Regions from separate parts of the Homo sapiens genome. Here regions 1 and 3 are each linked to region 2. The links are contacts of gene promoters, found by promoter capture Hi-C in human tissues and cell types (Jung and others, 2019). All regions are on one chromosome and are shown on one strand. Each heading gives the region's core, a stretch centred on a gene start or on the middle of the fragment in contact. The rest is flanking DNA. Distances are from core to core; before and after follow the strand shown. Region 1 overlaps SOBP (sine oculis binding protein homolog). Region 2 holds the start of FOXO3 (forkhead box O3). Region 3 overlaps SESN1 (sestrin 1).

The links. Contacts are between HindIII fragments. The study calls those that stand out against the background at their distance.
Region 1: a fragment that was not itself captured here is called in contact with the fragment with the promoter of FOXO3 in region 2 in 1 of the 25 tissues and cell types used here (dorsolateral prefrontal cortex).
Region 3: a fragment that was not itself captured here is called in contact with the fragment with the promoter of FOXO3 in region 2 in 2 of the 25 tissues and cell types used here (aorta and dorsolateral prefrontal cortex).

What each region holds. Positions count from the first base shown.
Region 1 is chr6:107,643,598-107,646,632 of GRCh38, forward strand. All of the region lies in intron 6 of SOBP (sine oculis binding protein homolog), which reads left to right. Among named protein-coding and RNA genes, the nearest start is that of SOBP, 150 kb to the left of the region's middle. The HindIII fragment of the contact is 4,361 bases long and covers 1-3,035 here.
Region 2 is chr6:108,559,515-108,562,214 of GRCh38, forward strand. It overlaps FOXO3 (forkhead box O3), which reads left to right and starts at 1,403. Exons shown (of 3, transcript NM_001455.4): 1 at 1,403-2,315. The coding sequence starts at 1,695. RefSeq lists silencers at 1-127, 168-237, 1,217-1,436 and an enhancer at 1,880-2,380. The HindIII fragment of the contact is 10,207 bases long and covers 1-2,700 here.
Region 3 is chr6:109,085,973-109,089,006 of GRCh38, forward strand. The region is part of intron 1 of SESN1 (sestrin 1); the gene reads right to left. Among named protein-coding and RNA genes, the nearest start is that of SESN1, 7.4 kb to the right of the region's middle. The HindIII fragment of the contact is 4,774 bases long and covers 1-3,034 here.

The sequences.
Region 1 (3,035 bases), core at 352-2,851, 920 kb before region 2:
TTTAGTAGAGATGGGGTTTCACCCTGTTGGCTAGGATGGTCTCCATCTCTTGACCTCATCATCCACCTGTCTAGGCCTCCCAAAGTGCTGGGATTACAGGTATGAGCCACCATGCCCAGCCTTTATAAGCCATTTTTAAGTAATTTACCCAAAAGCTTTCTCCCACTAGAATACTATAATTGAGTAGTATCTGAGCATCATTATAGAAGATACAAGATGAAGTTGCTGCAGCATGCATTCACATTCTTCTTGCTTTTCTGGTTTTAATTCAAATGTCATTTTTAGTAGAATCAGCTTATTTTATTATTTTTTAAATGTATTAAAAAATCATAAACAAGATTGGTTGTCTGTGATTTAAAACAAAGAAATTCCCCAGCACTCAAAAGCTAAAGTGTTCTAACCTGAACCGTATTGAGTCCCACACGTGAGCGTGGTGGCTCACTCCTGTAATCCCAGCACATTGGGAGGCCAAGGCGGGTGGATCAGACTTAGGTCAGGAGTTCAAGACCAGCCTGGCCAACATGGGGAAACCCTGTCTCTACTAAAAATATAAAAAATTAGCTGGACATGATGGCGCATGGCTGTAGTCCCAGCTACTTGGGAGGCTGAGGCATGAGAACAGCTTGAACCTGAGAGACAGAGGTTGCAGTGAGCCGAATTCGTGCCACTGCACTCCAGCCTGGGCGACACAGTGAGACTCCATCTCAAAACAAAAAACAAACAAAAAACTTCCCATTAGAGTGTTGGATCTCAGTCTGTGTCCACATGAACTTAAAGTGTCATATTGTTCCTCTGAAATGTCTTAGGGACAATTTATTGGTGGTTGGATTGAATTCTTTACTATTTGCCTTCAGCCATCTTGGAAGCTAAGACATAGGATCCTGTCTTTATCATAGGTAGCCTGTTTGTGCACTTAATATGAAAAAGAGGAGGGGGAAACCCTTTTTCCAAACGCAGAATCCATTTAAGCTTTGGAGGTTATAAATTTCAAAGTGATCACAGGCCCCTGGGGCTCACACTCTTTTATGGCTGGCAAAATACAACTTTCTGGTAAGAATGGGGAAAAGAAGGCTTTAAAAGGCTCATAAACTTGCTTGGACATCTAATAGCTCTTACCAAACAGCATTCTCATGAGTTAAGTGTAAATGAGTCAGAAACACATAGATCAAATTTCTTTTAAAATACACATGGGTTTGAAAATTAAGGCCAAAGTGCTTGGCAAAATAAGTTTTGGTTTTATCCAAACCCAAATGTTGAAAAAATAATTCTAAGATTTGCCAAACCAAAAATACATGCAGATCTCTTCAATCCTCCCATTAAATAAGATGGCATCATAAACATGGGACTTAGTGGCTATTTTCATAATCCCCAAGGTTTAGGCAACATGGACCTTAAATATTGATTGAAAGACTATGAAAAATTTTTGGTGGAAAAACATTATAACCTTGCAAATGAAGATGAGGGCTACTGGTTCAGGGTTCTCATCCTGATTTTGACAGCACTTCTCACTGTCCGATCAGGTGATCAACTTGTCCTTTGTCTTAGCTCTGGGTGTGTGTGTGTGCATGTGTGTGTGTGGCCTATGCATAGCAATAATAACTTTTAAAATCCTATTTTTGGATTTTATAAATCCTAAATGTATACTTAATTCATATATTACAATCTGCGAAACTTAATAACTCCTCATCATATCCAAACAGAGGGAAGCAGTCCCCTTTTGCTCATTCATAGTTCAGAGATAGTCTTCATTTATTTCCCTAGAGGGTAAAACATATCCATTTTGCACTAACAATATCTAATGCTGACTTTGCTCAGGTCTGTGTTATTAAAAGATGAGAGAGAGAGAGGGAAAGAGAGAAAAGAAAAAAAGTAGGGGAGGGTGTGTGGCAGGAGTCCTTGACTTGATTTGAAGAACTAATAACCTACTGAGAGACAAAAAAAAAAGCCAAGGTCACTTTTACAAGCAACATGCAGAACCTGCAAACTGATGTGACACTGCAGACAGTAGGCTTCGCAAGAGCAGGGACCGGGTCCAGTTCACTCATTGTTGTAACCAAGTGCCTAGCACAGGGGCTGGAAGAATGAGCACACAAGTATTCAGTGATCACATGAATGAAAGCGTCTCCATAGAGGAACAGCTAATGAAGCTGCCTTGATGTAGTGCCTTCTGGTCGATGAATTCTGAATTCTGAACCTGAGGAGGGATGTGGGCTGGCGATCAGGGGTGGAGAAATGAGGGGTGAAGTAGCATGTTAAAGGGCACAGACACAGAAAAGAGCAAGCTGTATTAGGGATGACCTTCCGGTTCACTTGGCTGGAACAAAGGGCTTGACCACAGAGGGTGAGAAGCATGAGGCTGGAGGAGAGTGGGAAGGTGGTAGAACAGGAGTTTGGGGAATTTGTACTCAATACATTGGGCAACGTCACTGTGGCCTCAAGCACAAGAATGACAAGATGAAATCTGTGTTTGAGGAAAATTACTTGAGCAGCTCTTTGTAGACTGAAAGACTGACATTGCTAAAGCTGATGGTTGCATTCTGATGGCAGGCTAATTGCCAGCAGTTGATTCTAAACATTGCAGAACGTCATCGCTGGAGTGCGAGGGACATGCGCTGCCAGATCTATGGGTTAAGTATGGAAAGCCATTGTCTCTGGACAGTGAGAAGAACTTTCTTTGTGCTAAGTGGGCCTAAGGAAATGTCACAATGCACGGTGGAAGGAAATCTCACAATCAACAGACCATTCCAGGATCTAAAGAAGGAAGATGCTGGCTTGGCTCCAGATGGCCACAGAAACAGAGGCCCCACCCTTCTGACCAACCAGCAGCTCTGAGCCTTAAGCCAGCAGGGAAGGGCAGATGTGGGCTGCTGTTTCATGCATGCACAGAGGCAGGCCCTGGCTCTTGCAGCAGCGGACTTCACGAATGTGGAATGTGGAGGTTACACAGCGATGCCTAGACTGTCTGTCCTTAGACCGAAGGGCAGCAGAAAGGCTCAGGGGGCTTGCTCTATATTCCTTAGACATCTCCGGAGATT
Region 2 (2,700 bases), core at 153-2,652:
CGCCGCGCTTTGTTGTCGTTGAGACTCTCGGGAGGGAGGAGGAGCCCAGCGGGGACAGCAGCGGGAGCCCGCCGAGTCCCGGCCCACGGCGCGCGCCCGGACACCCACGCCCGCAGCCCCGCGGAGCCGGGCCGCGCAGGCGCGCGCGAGCTCACACACGCGCACTCACACACGCACGCCCGCCGCGCGCCCGGCCCGCCGCCCAGCCCGCCGCCCAGCCCTCCCCCTGGGCGGGGACCCGCCCGCCGTCAGCCTAGGTTGAGGCGCCCTGCGTGTGTCTATAACTTTGTGCTGCTGCCGCGGCCGCCCTGCTCGTGGAAGGGAGGAGGAGGAATGTGGAAGGTGGCGGCGCGCGAGCTGACAGGCGGTTCCTCGGGCGGGCTGCGGCGACGGCCCGAGCGCTTCTCCTTCGCCGAGGTTGCGCGCCCCCTCCTCGCCGTGCCCCGGGCCCGCGCGGGATCGTGCGTCGTCCCGCCGCGTCCCTGAAGGGAAGGAAGCGAGGTAGGCGCCGGAGCCGTGCAGCGGGCGGCCGCCTTCCCGGTGACTCCGGATCTGCTTCCGAGCTGGGCCGGGCGCTTCCCTTTCCCCTCCCTGAGCCGCGGTGTGCGCGCCCCCCTTCTCGCCCGCTAGTGTTTTTAAAGGACTCGGGAAGGGGGAAACTGTCAAGATGGCAGCAGCGGGAGCAAGGAGGTGATGAACGTGCTGGTCCGGGTTTTCTAGCAGCCCGGGAGACTTGGCGCTTCCCGACCTGTTGGAAGATTTATGTTCCGACTCGCTCCCTCCCCCGGATCCCGACTGGGAAGGGGGCGGAGGGGACGACGTCCGCGAGAATGCAAACCACACAAAACCCCGAAGTGGCCGTCCCCGCCGGGCTCGAACCTCTGCGAACACCCGCTGGGCTGCTGCTCCCCCTTCTTTCTGTCTTTCCTTTATTTTTTGGAAGTGACAAGGGCCCATCTGCGCCCAGACCCCCGTTCGCCCTCTGGCCCGCGGGCGAAGAGGGGAGAGGGAGCTGCCCGCGCAGTCCCCGGGCTCGGGCCATTCGACCGGGTGGGGGGTGACGGGGGGTCGCGGAGGCGGCCAGGCTAGGAAAGGGGAGAAGAGCCGAAGACAGCACAGACTTGAGCGGCGGCGCCGCGGGAGGCACTAGAGCGGGCCCGAGCGAAACATAAACAAACGCACGCACACCCGAGCTCGGGCTCTGACCGCGGCTCGGCTGCGCCAGCTCCGGCCGCTGCCCGCTTTAAAGGCGCGGCCGCCCCTCCCCCGGGCGCCCCTCCCCCTTCTCCCCGCCCCGCCGCCTAGCCCGGGAGGGACCTGCGGCTGGGCGGCGGGGGGAGGGGGCTGCCCCGCGCGAGGCCGTCGATTCGCTCGCGGCTCCATCGCGGCCTGGCCGGGGGGCGGTGTCTGCTGCGCCAGGTTCGCTGGCCGCACGTCTTCAGGTCCTCCTGTTCCTGGGAGGCGGGCGCGGCAGGACTGGGAGGTGGCGGCAGCGGGCGAGGACTCGCCGAGGACGGGGCTCCGGCCCGGGATAACCAACTCTCCTTCTCTCTTCTTTGGTGCTTCCCCAGGCGGCGGCGGCGGCGCCCGGGAGCCGGAGCCTTCGCGGCGTCCACGTCCCTCCCCCGCTGCACCCCGCCCCGGCGCGAGAGGAGAGCGCGAGAGCCCCAGCCGCGGGCGGGCGGGCGGCGAAGATGGCAGAGGCACCGGCTTCCCCGGCCCCGCTCTCTCCGCTCGAAGTGGAGCTGGACCCGGAGTTCGAGCCCCAGAGCCGTCCGCGATCCTGTACGTGGCCCCTGCAAAGGCCGGAGCTCCAAGCGAGCCCTGCCAAGCCCTCGGGGGAGACGGCCGCCGACTCCATGATCCCCGAGGAGGAGGACGATGAAGACGACGAGGACGGCGGGGGACGGGCCGGCTCGGCCATGGCGATCGGCGGCGGCGGCGGGAGCGGCACGCTGGGCTCCGGGCTGCTCCTTGAGGACTCGGCCCGGGTGCTGGCACCCGGAGGGCAAGACCCCGGGTCTGGGCCAGCCACCGCGGCGGGCGGGCTGAGCGGGGGTACACAGGCGCTGCTGCAGCCTCAGCAACCGCTGCCACCGCCGCAGCCGGGGGCGGCTGGGGGCTCCGGGCAGCCGAGGAAATGTTCGTCGCGGCGGAACGCCTGGGGAAACCTGTCCTACGCGGACCTGATCACCCGCGCCATCGAGAGCTCCCCGGACAAACGGCTCACTCTGTCCCAGATCTACGAGTGGATGGTGCGTTGCGTGCCCTACTTCAAGGATAAGGGCGACAGCAACAGCTCTGCCGGCTGGAAGGTGCGTACCCACCCCGGGCTGGCAGCAGGACCCGCCGGGCCTCCTGCGCAGCGCGAGACGCGTCTCGGATTCGTCGGAGTGCGCTTGCGGGCTCCAGGGCAAGGGGTTGGCAGGGGGAGCCTCCGCTGCGAGGCTTTGGGGGTTATCTTTGATCCCCGGAGTCGGGGCACCTGGGGACGGTCTCGGAGGGGTGAATGAGGCTCCCCAGAAGCTTGGGGCATGGCCAGGTGAGGAGAGGGGGCAGGGGACGCCGGCGAGGGAAGGGCGAACGGACAGGAGTACATTTGCTGGATTCTCCGGACAGCACCGAGGAGGTAGGTCCGCAGCCAACTTTGGAGTAGAGTTTACCGTAGTGGGGGTCTGGTGCGGGCGCTGTGGCTGGAGT
Region 3 (3,034 bases), core at 377-2,876, 530 kb after region 2:
TAAACACTGACTATTTTTAAGTTATAAAATTCTTCATGATTAATACATAACCCAAAGTAGTGCCCATTTTATTAAAATTTTAAGTGATTAAGAATCCTGTATTAGGCCGGGCACGGTGGCTCACACCTGCAATCCCAGCACTTTGGGAAGCCAAGGCAGGCAGATCACTTAAGGTCAGGAGTTCAAGACCAGTCTGGCCAACATGGTGAAACCCCATCTCTACTAAAAACTAGCTGGGTGTGGTGGCGCATACCTGTAATCCCAGCTACTCGGGAGGCTGAGGCAGGGAGAACTGCTTGAACCCGGGAGGTGGAGGTTGCAGACAGCCAAGATCATGCCACTGCACTCCAGCCTGGGCAACAGAGTGAGACTCCATCTCAAAAAACAAAAAGAATCCTTTATTATACCCAAGATTCCACAGCTACTTTCTGTCAGACCAAAGTTTCAACAATCCTTAAGTTAGCAGTTTGAATTATTAATTACCTATTCAAATGGTAAAAAGATATTTTGCAAATTTCTCATGGCTTATCAAGAGAAAAATAAATATAACTCTAAACAAAGACAACAGTACACCTACTTTCTAATTCTTTTACTTCATGAATGGTCTGCACATACAGCACCTTTAAGGACACAAAGTGTTGAAAATGAGAAAAAATTCTAATTAAGCCATTGTTTTAGAGGATCCTTCATGATGTCATGAACAACCCATGATCTTAAAGTAAAATTTACTATGCAAGTGTTTAACATCTTTGTACAAAATACTATATCCCATTTGTAAACAAAATAACTATGTTAGAAAAATATTTTTTAAATGAATCAGTTTTTTTCATGTTAGAGGCCAATGGGGGCACTCCAACAGGAATAAAATAGATGAAATCAGGCCGGGCACTGTGGCTCATGCCCGTAATCCCAGCACTTTGGGAGGCCGAGATGGGTGGATCACAAGGTCAGGAGTTCAAGACCAGCCTGGCCAACATGGTGAAACCCTGTCTCCACTAAAAATAGAAAAATTAGCTGGGCGTGGTGGCGCCCACCTGTAATCCCAGCTACTCAGGAGGCTGAGGCAGGAGAATTGCTTGACCCGGGAGGCAGAGGTTGCAGTGAGCCAAGATCGTGCCACTGCACTACAGCCTGGGCGACAGAGCAAGACAGCATCTCAAAATAAATAAATAAACAAAAATAAATAAAATAAAATAGACGAAATCTGAACACATAAAGAGTACTGTTGTTAATTTTGATCTTTCTGAAGAGTCAAAACATAGGACAGGATGTATTTATATATTATAAAGAAGACACTGAGTATAGATAGTACAGATATGATTCCTCCTGTAAGTCAGAAAGTGAAAAAAAATTGGCTGTCTTCAAACAATTTAGAAAAAAAAAGTTAAAGATTTGCCTTCAGTTTCTTCACATTCTTTATCCAAAGAAGGACAGAAAACCTGAGAATAAAGAATATTCTCTGAGCCTCAAAAGCAAGGAAGGAAAGTGGTCAAAGACACGAATGAGAGGAGGCAATGAGAAGTAAGCCACAAGGCTTTCTGAGGGAAAGGGACCGAGTTCACAACGTATCAATAAAATAAGAAAGGCCAGAAAATAGTGGTATGGAAGAGAGAAGCTTAGTGTAAATATTGAAAGAGGACTCTCATATTTGCTGTGATATCTAAGAGTCAGCAGTGAATGTTTGACATGCACTACCTTAGACTTTTGGCTCCACTAAATGGCAGTTAAAAAAAAATCAAAACAAAACAATCATTTAAAAAGACCAAATCTGCTTCTAGAATGTCTCCAATCTGTTATATTTTATAGCCCCACTAAAAATGAATTAAGTATGCTTCTAATCTAATCGGATCCAAATTATAAATAGACCAAGTGATATATTATCTAGTTAGATACACATGCAGTTTTAATGGAAGCCTCTAATTAGGCCTGACTGCCTTCTGTACTGCTTCTCCTCATCGAGAAATTTTCTGTTCAAGTGATGGGGGGGCAGGGGGCGGGTCTCCTGGTCCTTAGGGGCTGAATGCTGATTAGTCCAAACCAAAAATAGAAATGCCCAATTTCTTCATCAATGACTGGCTTAGAAAAGGGCATGTGACCCAATCCCAGTCAATAGAAACTGAGAGGAAGTCTGCTAGAGGGTTTCTGGGAAAGGTTTTCTTCCCCGAGAGAGAGACGTGGGAAGAAACTCTTTTCTTCTTAGCTGCAGATAGTCATGTCTGCACATGGTGCCTGGAATAGCATGCTGTAGGAATGGAGACATCATTTGCTATGCTGAGGAAGGAGAACAAAAAAAAGAAAGCAGACAAGTAATGTAGTTGAGCCAATGAATCAATCAAGCTTGGAACTGCCAACCTCCAGACTTATTATGTGAAATAATAAACTTATTGTTACATTTTCAATCTATTTATTACTCAATTGGATAGCAACTAGATACTGCAACTCCAACTGTAACTCTAACAGCTATAAATGTGCATCCTACCCAGCAACGAAAGTTTCATTTCTCCTGGAGGTGGGGGGGTAATAATCACTTTACTAAATGAAAGCCTCCACCACCCCACTTACCAAAGATAAGTATTTTGTTGCTTATTCTAAATTTTCTATCTTAAGCCAATTTACTTTCAGACAATATTGATTGCTGGCAAACTTATGAAAATGACCAAATGACCATTCTTGGAAAAGTACTTGGCTATTCTGGATAGGCCTCAAAATCTTTTGATACATATGTGCTCTCATATTTTCCTCCTTAATTACATGTATCATCAAGACTATAGTTCACCAGTAGACTATATTAGGAAAGTGGGCCAGTATTAATACTCCCATTCCTTTGTTTAGAGAATCAAGAGTATCAAAAGGTGTAATTCTTCTTTTTAAAGTTTCTTTAAAAACCCAGTATAAAGCCTTGGATGAGAATAGAAAACCTTCTTCAAAAGCAGGAAACAAGTCTTACTGATCTTCAAGTCCTAAGTACAGTGACTGCCTGGCCCAGAATATTTCTCAAAAATGTGAATATATTTAAACATGCTGATGTGGAATC